Linked DNA regions of Homo sapiens: region 2 is linked to region 1. The links are contacts of gene promoters, found by promoter capture Hi-C in human tissues and cell types (Jung and others, 2019). All regions are on one chromosome and are shown on one strand. The core of a region is centred on a gene start or on the middle of the fragment in contact, and the rest is flanking DNA. Distances in the headings are between cores, read along the strand shown.

Region 1 (6,527 bases), core at 3,518-6,017:
TACCATGGCTGCTAAGGGAATGTCCTGTAGTCAAATGAAGTGTCATTTAGTCCTCCATGCAGGCCCTTGAAAACCTCCCCCATCTACTTCTTTTGCTTCTTAGTCTACATTCAATGGCCAAAAATGGTTAATCCCCCTGAAGCCTGCCAAGCTTTTACCACCGCCGCCACCCTACCACCCTTCTTCTGTACAAATTCCTCAGTAAGATATTGATTTGGTTGATGGAGAAAAGGACTTGACCCCAGAGGAAAGAGTCTGCCATGCTGAGCACAGAAACAACCCTCTAATCCGAGAGGAGTGGCCCCTGGAAAAGGGAGCTTTTGAGGCTCTTCCCATGTTAAGGCCTAGGCAGGGGTCAGGGCTTGGGGAATGTCAGGACCAGGGGAGATACCATGATAGGACTGGGGATAGAGAACCAACCATTAAGATGCAATGTGAGAGAAATGTTAAGTTCTTTATATTTAGGGCCAAAAAGCTGACTGTCCACATTTGGGCTGGGGATTCCTGGCTTGGAAGCAGTTTTCGCGTAACCTTCTAGTTACTATGAAAAGTACAATATGATGTGGCCACTGTGTAAAAAAGGGAAGACCAGCTGGGCGCAGTGGCTCACACTTGTAATCCCGGTACTTTGGGAGGCCGAGGTGGGCAGATCATGAGGTCATGAGTTCGAGACCAGCCTGACCAATATGGTGAAACTCCATCTTACTAAAAATACAAAAAATAGCTGGGCATGGTGACATGTGCCTGTAATCCCAGCTACTCAGGAGGCTGAGGCAGGAGAATTGCTTGAACCCGGGAGGTGGAGGTTGCAGTGAACCGAGATCGCACCACTGCACTCCAGCCTGGGTGACAGAGCAAGACTCCATCTCAAAAGAAAAGGTAACACTTTCTTAAGAACACAGCATTCAGCTACAATAATGGAAAAATCAGGTACAGGTCTCAGGAAGTAGCAGTCTGTGTTCTAAACTGCTCAGACATGATTTAGAAGCCTGTGTTTCATATGTGCTTGCAAATGACTACTGACAAACTAGGAATTGTCTCAGAAGGAGGAGGGTGAGTTGGTCTGGGAGCTATGACATATAAGAAAGGGCAAAAGGCCAGATGCGGTGGCTCACACCTGTAATCCCACCACTTTGGGAAGCCAGTGAGGGAGAATCGCTCGAGCCTAGAAGTTTGAGACCAGTCTGGGCAACACGGTGAGAGCTTGTCTCTACAAAATTTTTTTTTAAGTTAGCCAGGTTGGGTGGTACGTGTCTGTAGTCCCAGCTACACTCAGGAGGCTGAGGTGGGAGGATTGCTTGAGCCTGGGAGGTTGAGGCTGCCGTGAGCCATGATCACACACTGCACTCCAGCCTGGGTGACAGAGGAAGGCCTTGTCTCCAAAATAAGAAAAAAGAAAAGAAAAAGGGCAAAAGGAGCTATCTGTGGACAAAGAAGGCCAAAGGAAGAAGCAGAAGCAGAATGATAGAAAAAGTCACAGTCCTGAGGGCTCATAGTCTAGCAGACCTCTAGCATCACACAGATCAGCATTAGTGACCTGGAGACTCACGGGTCATAACATCATGAGATTTTAGAGCTGGAAAGAACTTACAAAGTCTGGTCTATTCCCATTTTATAGATGAGAAAACTAAGGACAGAGATTTTAAGTGAATGACCTCACTTAAGTGAGGCACAAGGCTAGATGTCATACAACCAAGACTAGGATTCAGTTCCTTGATTTTTACTCCAAGTCCCTTCCATCCTAAGAGCACTCTCTCATAACATTCAAGGGTGCTGTGAGTAGCAAAGGAAGTTGACAATGCTCTGCCCTGATTCAAAAGGCAAGAGGAACACAACAATCAGTGATGAAATGTGATTTGCGGGTGGGAGGGTGCTGCGAGGAGGATTTATGGTTGGTCTAAGAGCTTCCTAACAATCGACTCTGGCCAGGCCTAAGATCAGCTGCCCTGGGAAGCAGCAAGCTCCCCATTCCCAAGAGGTCTTCAGAAAGAGGAGGGGATTCTGTTGAGAGGTGGGAGACTGGTCTCTACAAACAGCAAAATTCCATGATTCCCACATAGAGAATGCACCCCCCCCCGCGCACCCGCATACATGGTTGGAGGAAGGATAAAAGCACAATTAGAGGCAGGGTTGGTACGGGTGCTACTAAGAAAGGCAGCATGGGACAGTAGGAACAGGCGTTTTTTTCCTTGTGGTCACTTTTCTTCCAAGTTTAAGGGCTCTCGGCTCCTCACTGGAGGAAAAATTCTCAAGTCAGAACTGCAAACCAGGAACAAAGGTTGTTCTCATATTCAAGAACTCAGCAAGGGTAATTATGGTTGACACTAAAGCAGGCAAGATTCTAGTTGGGCACAATGAAGATCTCCTTGACCAGCAGAGTAATAGAACACTGTAACTGACTGCAGCAGGAAGTTTAGAGGCTCTGTCACTTCTCCAAGGACACACACAGCTTTCTGGCCTGCAGGCTCAGATGCTCAGCTGTCACCAGGCTGGGGAATCAACCAGATGGCCTTCCGGGTCTCAAGTCTGGCATTCCTAGACCTGCCCAGGAATCTTCTCAGCCGTACCAGCGTCCCCAGGGTCCAGGGGAAACCATCCGCCACGCTATAACCCCGAGGCTCGGCAGCATTTCTCCCCAGTTTGCATTTTGATGTTTCATATAACGTATCTACTCCCACCAGGGTACATCTCCCTCCCTCGGTAAAGATATCCTTAGCCACCAAACCCAAATGGCTCACTGGCTTCTCTCCAAGGCAAAAAGAGAGTTTCACTCCTCATCCTCTTTTTCTATCCAGTGAGACTAATTCATCATGTGTACTGGAAAGTCCCTTTTAAGTCTCAGCCAAAAGTCTTTCTTTTTTCTTGGAGCACAAATAAGCTGGGAAGAGAGAGAGAGAGTTCACCGTTTTGCAAGTTTCAGAGGTGAAAGTCACTGTCACACACACACACACAAAAAAACCAGAAAGAAAAGAAAAAAAACTGGCAAAAAGTCTGGAAATTATTCACACTGAGAAGTCTGACTGGTTGATTTCAAATTCATTCACAGCTTAATAAATCATTTGCTGGGGGAAGAGGGGAGCAGAGGAGGAGCAAGACACTCCAAAGAGAACAAGCAGGGTGGGATCCCTGGGGTCTGTGCATTCTTTGGCATCGCTGGTACCTGGTGGCTCTAGCTTTTGCTGAAGGAGGATGTATGTGGGGGTGAGTAAATAATAGAGTTTGGCTGGAGCTTCAAAGACACCTTGGCACAATCCAATTACACAGTCCCAGGATAGCAAGCCCGCTACCTCTCCCTTCCCCATTTCTTAGGCTTCCAATCTAAATATCTCAATTAGAAAAGGGCTGGCAGGAAGGAATGGGGAGAGGAAGGGAGTTTGTAGCAGGACTAGGAAAATGGAGATTGCCTGTGTTTGCTATGTATAGGCTGAAACGGTCCCATCGCTGCCTACCTACCCCCAGCCCCCCAACTCCGCCCTGGAAGCCACTGACCTTTGCCAAGAAGGCGGCGTTCCTGATGGCGCCCACCATTTCTCCCCCCTTAGGGTGCACCTTGGCCACGTGCATCCACATGCGCTCCCAGGTGTGGCTGTCGATGGGGAAGCCGCTCTTGTTGACGTGGAACAGCACCCCGCCGTCTTTGTCCTCCTCCTCTGAGCCCCCGCTGGTGGCGAGGCTCACGGGCCGCGCGTGGCTGCTCCGGGACCGGGTGCCTTTGGCGCCTTTGGGGTGGGGGCAGCGGTGAGTGTCGGCCGCGGAGCCGGTCATGGTGGGGCCTGGGCGGGGAGCGAGGTACTGGGGGCGCGCGGCGGCGGCAGCGGCGGCGGCGGCGGGGGGCGTGTGCGCGCGGGCGCGGCGAGGGGATCAGCGCCCCGCGGGGGCGGCCTTCTCCATGCCTCTCGCTGCGGCAGGACTCACCAAGGGGGAGCGGCGGCGGGAGCTCCGCGGAGGCTCCCTGCTTACCGGCGGTGCCTGAAATCAGCGGAGACACAGCTGACACCACAGCTAAGTGGACGCACAGCGGAACCGAGTGAGGGGTCCCGGAGTGTCTCCACGACACTCCCCGCTCCCCCCTGCACGCTGACAGCCTCCCTGAGAATCGATGACGGGCTTCCAGCCCTGCGATTACCTAGAAAGGCAGCTCAAAATGTGCCACGAAGCTTCACACACACCTAAACCCGGGGGGTTGGGGATGGAGGGGCACAAGGAGCTTGGGGGATGCGGAGCGCAAGATGTGGGGAGAAGAAAGACAGCTTGTGTAGCATGAAGGAACAGGAGGTTCCCGCAAGGCTCCACACATTCCTGGGTCCTCAGATGTGGCCAAGAGAGGAGGGGAGCCACGAACGTGCTGGCATGTGAGCGCCCAGAGCTGGCGCGAGGGCGCTGCAGCAGCCTTGGCTTGCAAGGCGGCCCGCTTTCTTCCAGGAAGCCCTCCCGGACCCCGGCGGGGATCTAGTGGAAAGAGCTCCATCCGCCCCCTTTTCCCCGAGTTCCAGCGCCTATCACCGGGAGGGACTGGCTGCAGGCGGGCGGCGCGCAGGAAGGGCGCGCGGCAGCTCCAAGATCCTACCTCGGGACGGTTGGCTTCATGGCTGCAGAGCCTCTCCGGGCGGCGGGAGAGCAGGGGCTGCTGCTGCTGCTGCTGGGCCTGGGGCTGGGGCTGGGGCTGCTGGGGCTTGCTGGGGCCGTCGCCTCATTCCATGTCCCATTCTCGAATGTTATTCTGTGACATATAACCAAGTCACCCGGGCAGCCGCCGATGTTCCGAATGCGTCTATTGGCCACCGCAACAAAGAGGGGCGGGTCCCGGGCTCGGGACTCTACAACCCCGGGCTCCGCGACGCTCTGATTGGCTCCAGGGGTTCTCTGGCGGGAGGGGACAGGAGTAGGGGGAGCCTGGCGGCCACGCGAAATCCGATCGCTGTGGTGTCCTGAGAGCCCCGCGGGCTGGAGCGTTTGGCCATGGGACTTAAGATCGAGTTTCCCCAGGGGTCGTGGCACTTCGAGGGTTTGCAACTGTGGAAGCAGAGGAGAAACAAAACCACCCGAGAAGTGACCCCGCGGAAGCAGAGGGTTTGGCATCAGAAGAGCATTCCCTGAGGGACGCTGGACACACTTACCTGCCTCTACCCGGGATGATGAGTTGTTCATCCTCTACCTGGGATGATGAGGGGCTGTTCATACCTATGCGTGAAATTAAATCTTTTTTAAATCCCGCATTTAAAAATTCCTCAAAATTAACAAGTGGGTGCAGCTTTGGATCCTCTGGTATTAGTCATGGTTAATAAAGTCCCTTTAAGCCCAAGTTGAGAGGAGACAATAAAACTCAAGAGGTCAGGCAGGCCCTGACTGTTCTGCCACAGCTGTTGAGTGAGAGGAGGGATGGAGAGATGCTTCCAAACCATGGTGAAGTGGGTGGCTATCCCACACTCACTACTGAAACACCTTCTCTTTCTTTTTCTTTAAGAAAGAGGAGAGCAGGTTGAGGTGGGAAGAGCACCAGACTGCTGACCTGAAGGCTGGCTCCTGGTCCAGGTTTGTCACTTTGCTCAGCTGTGTGACCCTGGACAAGCCACTTCCCTGCTCTGGGCCTTAGCTTCTCTTTCTGAAAGGAGAGCAGACCTCCCGCTCTCCAGGGTCTGTTCTGGCTGTAAGGTTCTGTGATTCCCTGACTTCCTCTCTTGTGACACTGAGGATCCTGGCCATAGCATCCTTTCTCTTTAAACTGCAGGCCAGCAGGCCAGCTCTGAGCAAAGCAGTTATGAGACCTATGCTAAGTGAACCTTGAATTAAGAAGACAGTTGTCAAAGTGCCACTGATGGCGGGTCAGTTTCTGGATGCTTATCCTGACAAGTTGCCTGTCATGGAACTGGAACTTCTCTTCCACAGGAGGGCAGAGACCCCTGAGGGGTAGTTGAGAGCCAGGGCTTGGGTGAGGAGACCTGGATTCTGGACTTAGCCCTGCACTGCTCCCTGAGACAGAGCCCATGCCAAGAACTTTATAGATTCAATAATGAGAATAGGGCAGACGTGGTGCCTCACACCTTTAAACCCAGCACTTTGGGAGAAAGAGGAGGAAGGATTACTTGAGGCCAGGAATTAGAGACTGGACCAACATAGCGAGACCTTGTCTCTACTAAATAAATATTTTGAAATTAGCCAGATGTGGTGGCACACACCTGTAGTCCCAGCTACTCAAAAGGCTGAAGTGGACATGTAGAATGAAACTGGATCCTCGTCTCTCACCTTACACAAAAATCAACTCCAGATGGATCAAAGACTTAAGTCTAAGACCTGAAACCATAAAAATTCTAGAAGATAACATGAGAAAAACACTTCTAGACATTAGCTCAGGCAAAGAAATCATGACTAAGACCTCAAAAGCAAATGTAACAAAAATGAAAATAAATAAATGAGACCTAATTAAACTAAAAAGGGTCTGCACAGCAAAAGAAATAATCAGCGGAGTAAACCGACAATCCACAGAGTGCGAGCAAATATTCACAAACTGTGCATCTGACAAAGGACCA
Region 2 (6,467 bases), core at 1,822-4,321, 530 kb after region 1:
CACTCTGGGAGGCCGAGGTGGGAGGATCACTTGATTGAGCTCAGGAGTTCAAGACCAGTCTGGGCAACACAGCAAAACCGTCTCTAAAAAAATTTTTTCTTTTTAATTAGCTGGGTGTAGTGGTGTGCACCTGTGGTCCCAGCTACTTGGGAGGCTGAGGTGGGAGGACTGTTTGACCCCAGGAGATGGAGGTTGCATTGAGCTGAGGTCACACCACTGCACTCTAGCCTGGGCGACAGAGCCAAACCCTGTCTCAAAAAAATAAAAAGAAAAGAAATCTAGGCCTTGTACAGCAAGACTCTATATACCCATTAGTTCTCAGAAAATTTAACAGTGAAATGGTGTTATTGTCTGAGTCCCTTTTGGTTGGCTAGCAATAAGCAGATCATTAAGTACTGAATAATGGTGCCCTTATCCAATCATAACATTTTAAATTCTTTAGCCAACGCATTTCCAAATAAATGAGGGGTATCTCCAAACCCCTAGGGAAGAACTGTCCAAGTTAATTGAGAAACTAAATGACTATGTGGGTCAGTCCATTCAAAAGCAAAGATGGATTGTGAATCAGGGTGCACCAAAATACAGAAAAAGGCTTCCTTAAGATCTAAGATTGTAAGCCAATTAGCACCCCCAGGGACCTGGGCTAACAGCCTGTAAGGATTGCATACTATAGGATGTATGAGAACAACAGCCTCATTGACAACCAGGAGGTCTTGAACAAATCTATAGTCTCCACTTGTCTTTTTAACTGACAAGATTGGAGTATTACAGGGAGACTCAGAGTCTCAGCAAACCAAACTGCAGAAACTTATTTATTAATGGCTGGATTCCTCTTTGTGCCTCTGGTCTCAGAGGGTATTGTCTTTTCCAGGGAATATGAGACACCAGGTTTGGTTTAAGTTAAATACAAACTGGAGGGGTATGTAATGCCCTCCCCAGAACTTAAATGTTCCAAACCATAGGATCTATTTGGGAGGTTACTACAACATGCAAGCTAGCTGAATCTCTATTAATTTTTCTCCATTGTCTTGGAGAGAAGTAAAAGCAATTCCTCATCCACCTTGTAATCTCTGAAAGAGTCTACAGTTTGAAGCTGAATTAATACATTTCTTCCCAAAAGAGAGGCAGGGCATTCAGGCATTAAAAGAAAAACATACAAAGCCATGAGACGAGATCGTGCCACTGCACTTCAGCCTGGTGACAGAATGAGACTCTGTCTCAAAAAAAGAAAAAAAAAAAAAAGAAGAGCAGCTTATAGGATGCTAAAACAGCACCTATGAGCTTGTCCATTTATCCCTGTGATCATACAGTCTCGGGATGATAAAGCCTCTTCATAATGTGCCAAAACAGAGCAAGCAGCCCCTGTATAGAGAAGGAAATTAATATTCTTACCTGCCACTTCAAGGGTTACCCCAGGATCCTCCAGATACATGGTTTTGTTGCCCAATGAGAGCTGTGGCAGAAGGTCTTGAGCCCCATCACTCTTGGCCTTCAGCACCTAAACTAAGGATGTCTGAGCAAACCCGAGAGTGAGTGGTGCGCCTCTTCCTAATGGCCAGTTGTCTTACAGCAAGCACATTAATTTATATTCAAGTTGCGGTGATCTGGAAGCCCAGATTGGGGCTTTCTGCCTTCTAGCTTCCCTTGCCAAGGCTGAGAAGTGTAAGGGCAACCCCCATATGTGTGGCAAGCTTAAGGCCACAGCTAAGAGCTGTTCCTTTTGAGAAGCTGTCTTAAGTTTTTCTGCTTTCTCTGTCTTGTCCTTGTTATTAAAAACCATAAATGCCGTGTCCCAAAACTGGTTCATAGTAGTCTGGGGAACCAAGGCTGCTTTTTTTGCAGTTTCCAATGGATATCAAGGGCAGACTGGATTATACAATGTACCCCTAATCAGGTTTGTCCTTTTGAAGTGGGATCAGTGTATTTCCTAATTGCCTCAATTGTCCCTGAAACAAAGCCAGATTCTCATCTTTACCTTGGGTAACTTCCTTCACGTTATCATAATTAACATGTTTTTTCGTACATGTGTTTATCCCTTCTAATAAACAAGTGATCATGTGATCTCTCTTCTCAGTCTTCACTATTCCTTTGATCATTCCATCCTCGATTTTGATCAGGAACTGCAATACCCCCAACCCTGTAGATAGTATGATTAGAATTGTGGGATAGCATTTCATCTGCATGTGTCCTAGCTATTTCCAAAATCCACTGTTTTTCTTCCACTGTACAGCAGGTGGATAACAAAATATGCAAATCCTGCCAGGTTAAATTATGTCAGAGTTAGTTTCTCAAACTCATCTATAAATTTTCCTAGGTCTTCAGAGAAACAACCAAATTTTTCTTTGCATAATGCCAAATCAGACATAGAAAAAGGGACACATACCCTTATAGTGCCCTGTTCCCCATTTACCACTTCTCTAAGCAAAGATTTTCCTTTGAAAGTTGCTAAGAGGCTCCACTATGGGTAATACAGGTGGGGCTGGGTTCCTCAGGGAGTAACGGGTACAGAATAGGACTAAGCATCTCAGAAGGAGGTAGATGTAAAATAGGGCTAGACGGGTAAGGAGGATGAGATGAAGAGGTCTCAACAGAACTACTAGAAGGGCTAGAAGGGACAGGGGCAGATGCACCTGAAGCATTGGAACTGACCAAGGCTTGCATTGAAAGATCATCTAGAATATCTAATTAGTTTTCCTCTTTTATTTTCATTAAATATGCACATGCTTGTTTTAAAGTTTTATCCTGACTAAGCAATAGAAATGTTTGAACATATGGTATTTCACCCCATTTTCCCTCCTGCTTGCAAAACAAATCAAGTTGAAGTATAACTATTAAAGGCTGTAGTTCCATTAGGTGGCCATTTTTCTTGACTTTCCAAATAACATTATTATTATTTGGAATAATAACATTATTATTTGGCCCTATTAGGGCCAAACAATATTACATAAAAATAAACATTTCTTTTTCTTAAGCCCACCTAATTTAAATTGGTCCCAATGCTCTAATATGTACCCTAGTGGTGAGCTTTTTAGGATTAAGGCTGTGTTACCCATGAAGGGAGCAGGTAAAGGTGAAAATAGAGATCATTGTGAATAAGGTTGTACTGCCACTGGCCAAGCTCCACTAAAAAGGATGAAAGAGCTTTCAGAGCCAAATGAGCAAGGGAAAATGATCCTGTGATCACTTTTTTTTTTTTTAATAAAAATAGAGGCGGGGTCTTGCTATGTTGCCCAGGCTGCTCTTGAACTCCTCAGCTCAAATGATCCTCCTGCTTTGGGCTCCCAAAGTGCTAGGATTACAGGTGTGAGCCACTATACCCAGCCCCCATGGTCACTTTAATTCAGCTATTCATATTACCCAAATAATGAGTTGGGCCATTTGCACTAGAGAGACCACAATAGGGGACTTGACAAAGAAATGTCTCATTAAGCAAGGGAAATGACACAGACCCGGGAAGGAATGTCCAGGCTCAGGACAGTGATGGCAAGCAGGGTGAAACTTACATGGTCTTGCTGTCCGTAACCAAGAAGTAAAAGTCATTTGATTAGTGAGCAGATGAAAAGGAACTGCTAAAAACAAATCTCCAATTCCCTATTCTATAGCTGTTTGTCTACATGGGACTGGCATAATTGCTGCCTGGCTCAATCATACACCCTGGAATTTTTCATTTAAAATTTGTAAGTACTGGCTGGGCGCGGTGGCTCACGCCTGTATCCCAGCACTTTGGGAGGCCGAGGTGGGTGGATCACTTGAGGTCAGGAGTTCAAGACCGGCCTGACCAACATGCTGAAACCCCGTCTCTACTAAAAATACAAAAATTAGCCAGGCATGGTGGCACACACCCGTAGTCCCAGCTACTCGGGAGGCTGAGGCATAAGAATCACTCGAACCTGGGGAACGGAGGTTGCAGAGAGCTGAGATCACGCCACTGCACTCCAGCCTGGGCGACAGAGCAAAACTTCATCTCCAAATAAATAAATAAATAAATAAATAAAAATTGGAAGTACCAAGTTTCAATTTTGAGAGAAGGGGAGGCAATAAATAATTCATGTAAATGGGCTACATATAGGGAAAGTAAATCTTGCAGAACCATTCATCCCCAATGTACCTTAACAGGATGCCGGAGCAGACAGGCGAAGAGCCGATAATCTGAAGGCAAATGAGGAAAGTGAAAAGTTAAAAATATCAGGACTGGTCAAGTGAGGCCTGTGAAAAACAGCAGGAAAACACAGCAGTAAAACATAGACAGCAATCAGGAAACTGGCAAGTAGCAGCCTTTAACGAGCAGCCAAGAGTGCAAGGAGGGCTAATCCAAAGGGAGTAATGGTTAATATCTCGTCACACTGAATCCATATCCAGCTATGAGGATGTGGAGGGCCTCCAACCCTTCCTAGTTGGACCTCTAACCAGTTTTAGACAAGTACCCCGTCCTTTACCACTATAAAAATATATTCCACTACTTACCCAAAGTTGGCCAATTGGTGCTGCACAGTGTATTTCCTCTGGGTTGGAGGGTCTCACCTCATTAAGGTTCCAGTGGAGATGCAATGGGAAAATGTTACCAGAAAAGGGGTCTCATCCAAGAACCCAAGAGCAGGTTCTTGGCTCTTGCAGGGAGATAATTCAGGGCAAGTCACAGAGTATAGTAAAGTTTAAATAGTTTATTAGAAACCACTCTATTACAGAGTAGGGCATGCTCAGAAAGCAAGAGGAGGAATGCCTCTACCTTAATGTAACGCTTGCTTACATAGGATATTAGGGCTAAGAATAGTGTACTTTATTATAAAGTCCTGTGATCAGCTTGTGACAGGATATTAGTATTCATGTTCTCTTGTGTAACTATTGATTTCAGCGAGAATTTATGGGTGTACTATTAATAGCATCATTAGAGTAAAACCCATTTTTAAACTAAGAATGCCTTTTTCCATTAACTTGTTTCCTCAGCCCTAGACATCTTGTGATAAAGAGTGCCTAACTTCCTGAGAAAGTCACCCAGCAGTTTTTTTTTTTTTTTTTGGCTTTATATGGCCTTTATTCAAGATGGAGTCATTCTGGTTAGGACACCTGTGACAGAATAAGTTTAAATGTTAATGGAATAACTCTGGCTGAAGCCGGGAGGCTACTGCAATAATCCAGGTGGGAGATGATGGCTGCTTGGACCAGGGTGGTGCCTGGGGATGTGGTGAGAAGTGGTTGACTATGGATATGTTTTGAAGATGTGGTTGATAGAATTTGCTGACAGATGAGACTTGGGATGTAAGAAACAGAGAGGAGTCAGAGGTGAGTTGGAGGTTGTTGCCCTGAGTAACTAGAAAGATGGAATTGCCATTTATTGATATAGGAGTAGGTTTTGGAGGAGAAGATCAAGATCAATTTGGGGCTTGTTCAGTTTGTGATGTGTGTTAGACATCTAACTGAAGGTATCAAATTGGCAATTAAATATACAAGTCTAGAATGAGGGGAGAGTTCTGGGCTGGAGATAGAAATTTTGGAATTCACTGGCATAGGTGTTGTATGTAAAGCCACAGGAATGGCTGAGATCGCCAAGGGAAGTGCATGTGGACAGAGGGGACTGAGCTCCTAACATTTGGTGGTTGGTAGAACTGGCAAAGGAGACCAGAAAAGGGCTCACTGTATGCCAGGTACTGGTTTCAGCACTTTGATGTTTATAAGCTCTTTTAATCCTCACTTTAACTCTGGGACATAACTATTACTATGTCAGGGGACCTTAAGTACCTCACGTAGCTCTCACAGTAGGTGACAGAGCCAAGTCAAGCACAGGCCATGTGTCCTACAGCCTGCCATAACCACCAGGCTATCCTTCCCCCCAGCGACTATACCAAATGTTTATACTTTTACTTATTTAACAGGATGGGTTTCTAGTGCAGAGTGACTTAAACAGGATCTGTGTGCATTAACTTTACTCTGAATCTCAATTTCCACATTAGTAACATGCCAGCCTGCCTCTTTCATAGGACTGTGTTAAAACTAACAATGGTAGTGGAATTGTAAACCTCGAAGTGCAGTATCTACATTACACTGTGTCACAAGATCTCTGGGGATGGAGGAGGCCCTTGAAAACCCCCGAATTGAATATCATCCCCTTCCTGATGCATGTCACGATAACATCCCTATCATACCTTGTACTGCCTCTCTGCTTGGGCCCTTTCTCTTTCTACAGTTCTGTTTGTAAGGAACATCTTTAAGCCAAAAGACCCTTCTAATTTCTACTGATCCCATATAACTCCCCCCTCCCTGAGATGCTGAGGATAAGTCTATACATGAATAACATGCTTATAGGCCCTTGGATTTCTCCAGGCACCCCTCTGATTGTCATTTTCTACTTGAACCCAGACATATTTTTCCAAAGCACTTGGAATCCGTTAGTCACCGGCAAGAAAAATGGAAAGTATTCTTTTTCTTTAAAATTTTATTTTATTTTAAGTTCTGGGATACATGTACAGAAT

What was found. Contacts are between HindIII fragments. The study calls those that stand out against the background at their distance.
Region 2: a fragment that was not itself captured here is called in contact with the fragment with the promoter of VASH2 in region 1 in 1 of the 25 tissues and cell types used here (spleen).

The regions. Positions count from the first base shown.
Region 1 is chr1:212,948,781-212,955,307 of GRCh38, reverse strand. VASH2 (vasohibin 2) reads right to left here and starts at 4,767. Exons shown (of 8, transcript NM_001301056.2): 1 at 4,568-4,767; 2 at 3,490-3,969. The coding sequence starts at 3,765. RefSeq lists enhancers at 4,062-4,111, 4,632-4,781. The HindIII fragment of the contact is 12,745 bases long and covers 2,155-6,527 here.
Region 2 is chr1:212,419,661-212,426,127 of GRCh38, reverse strand. No RefSeq gene overlaps it. Among named protein-coding and RNA genes, the nearest start is that of PACC1, 8.0 kb to the right of the region's middle. The HindIII fragment of the contact is 6,505 bases long and covers 1-6,323 here.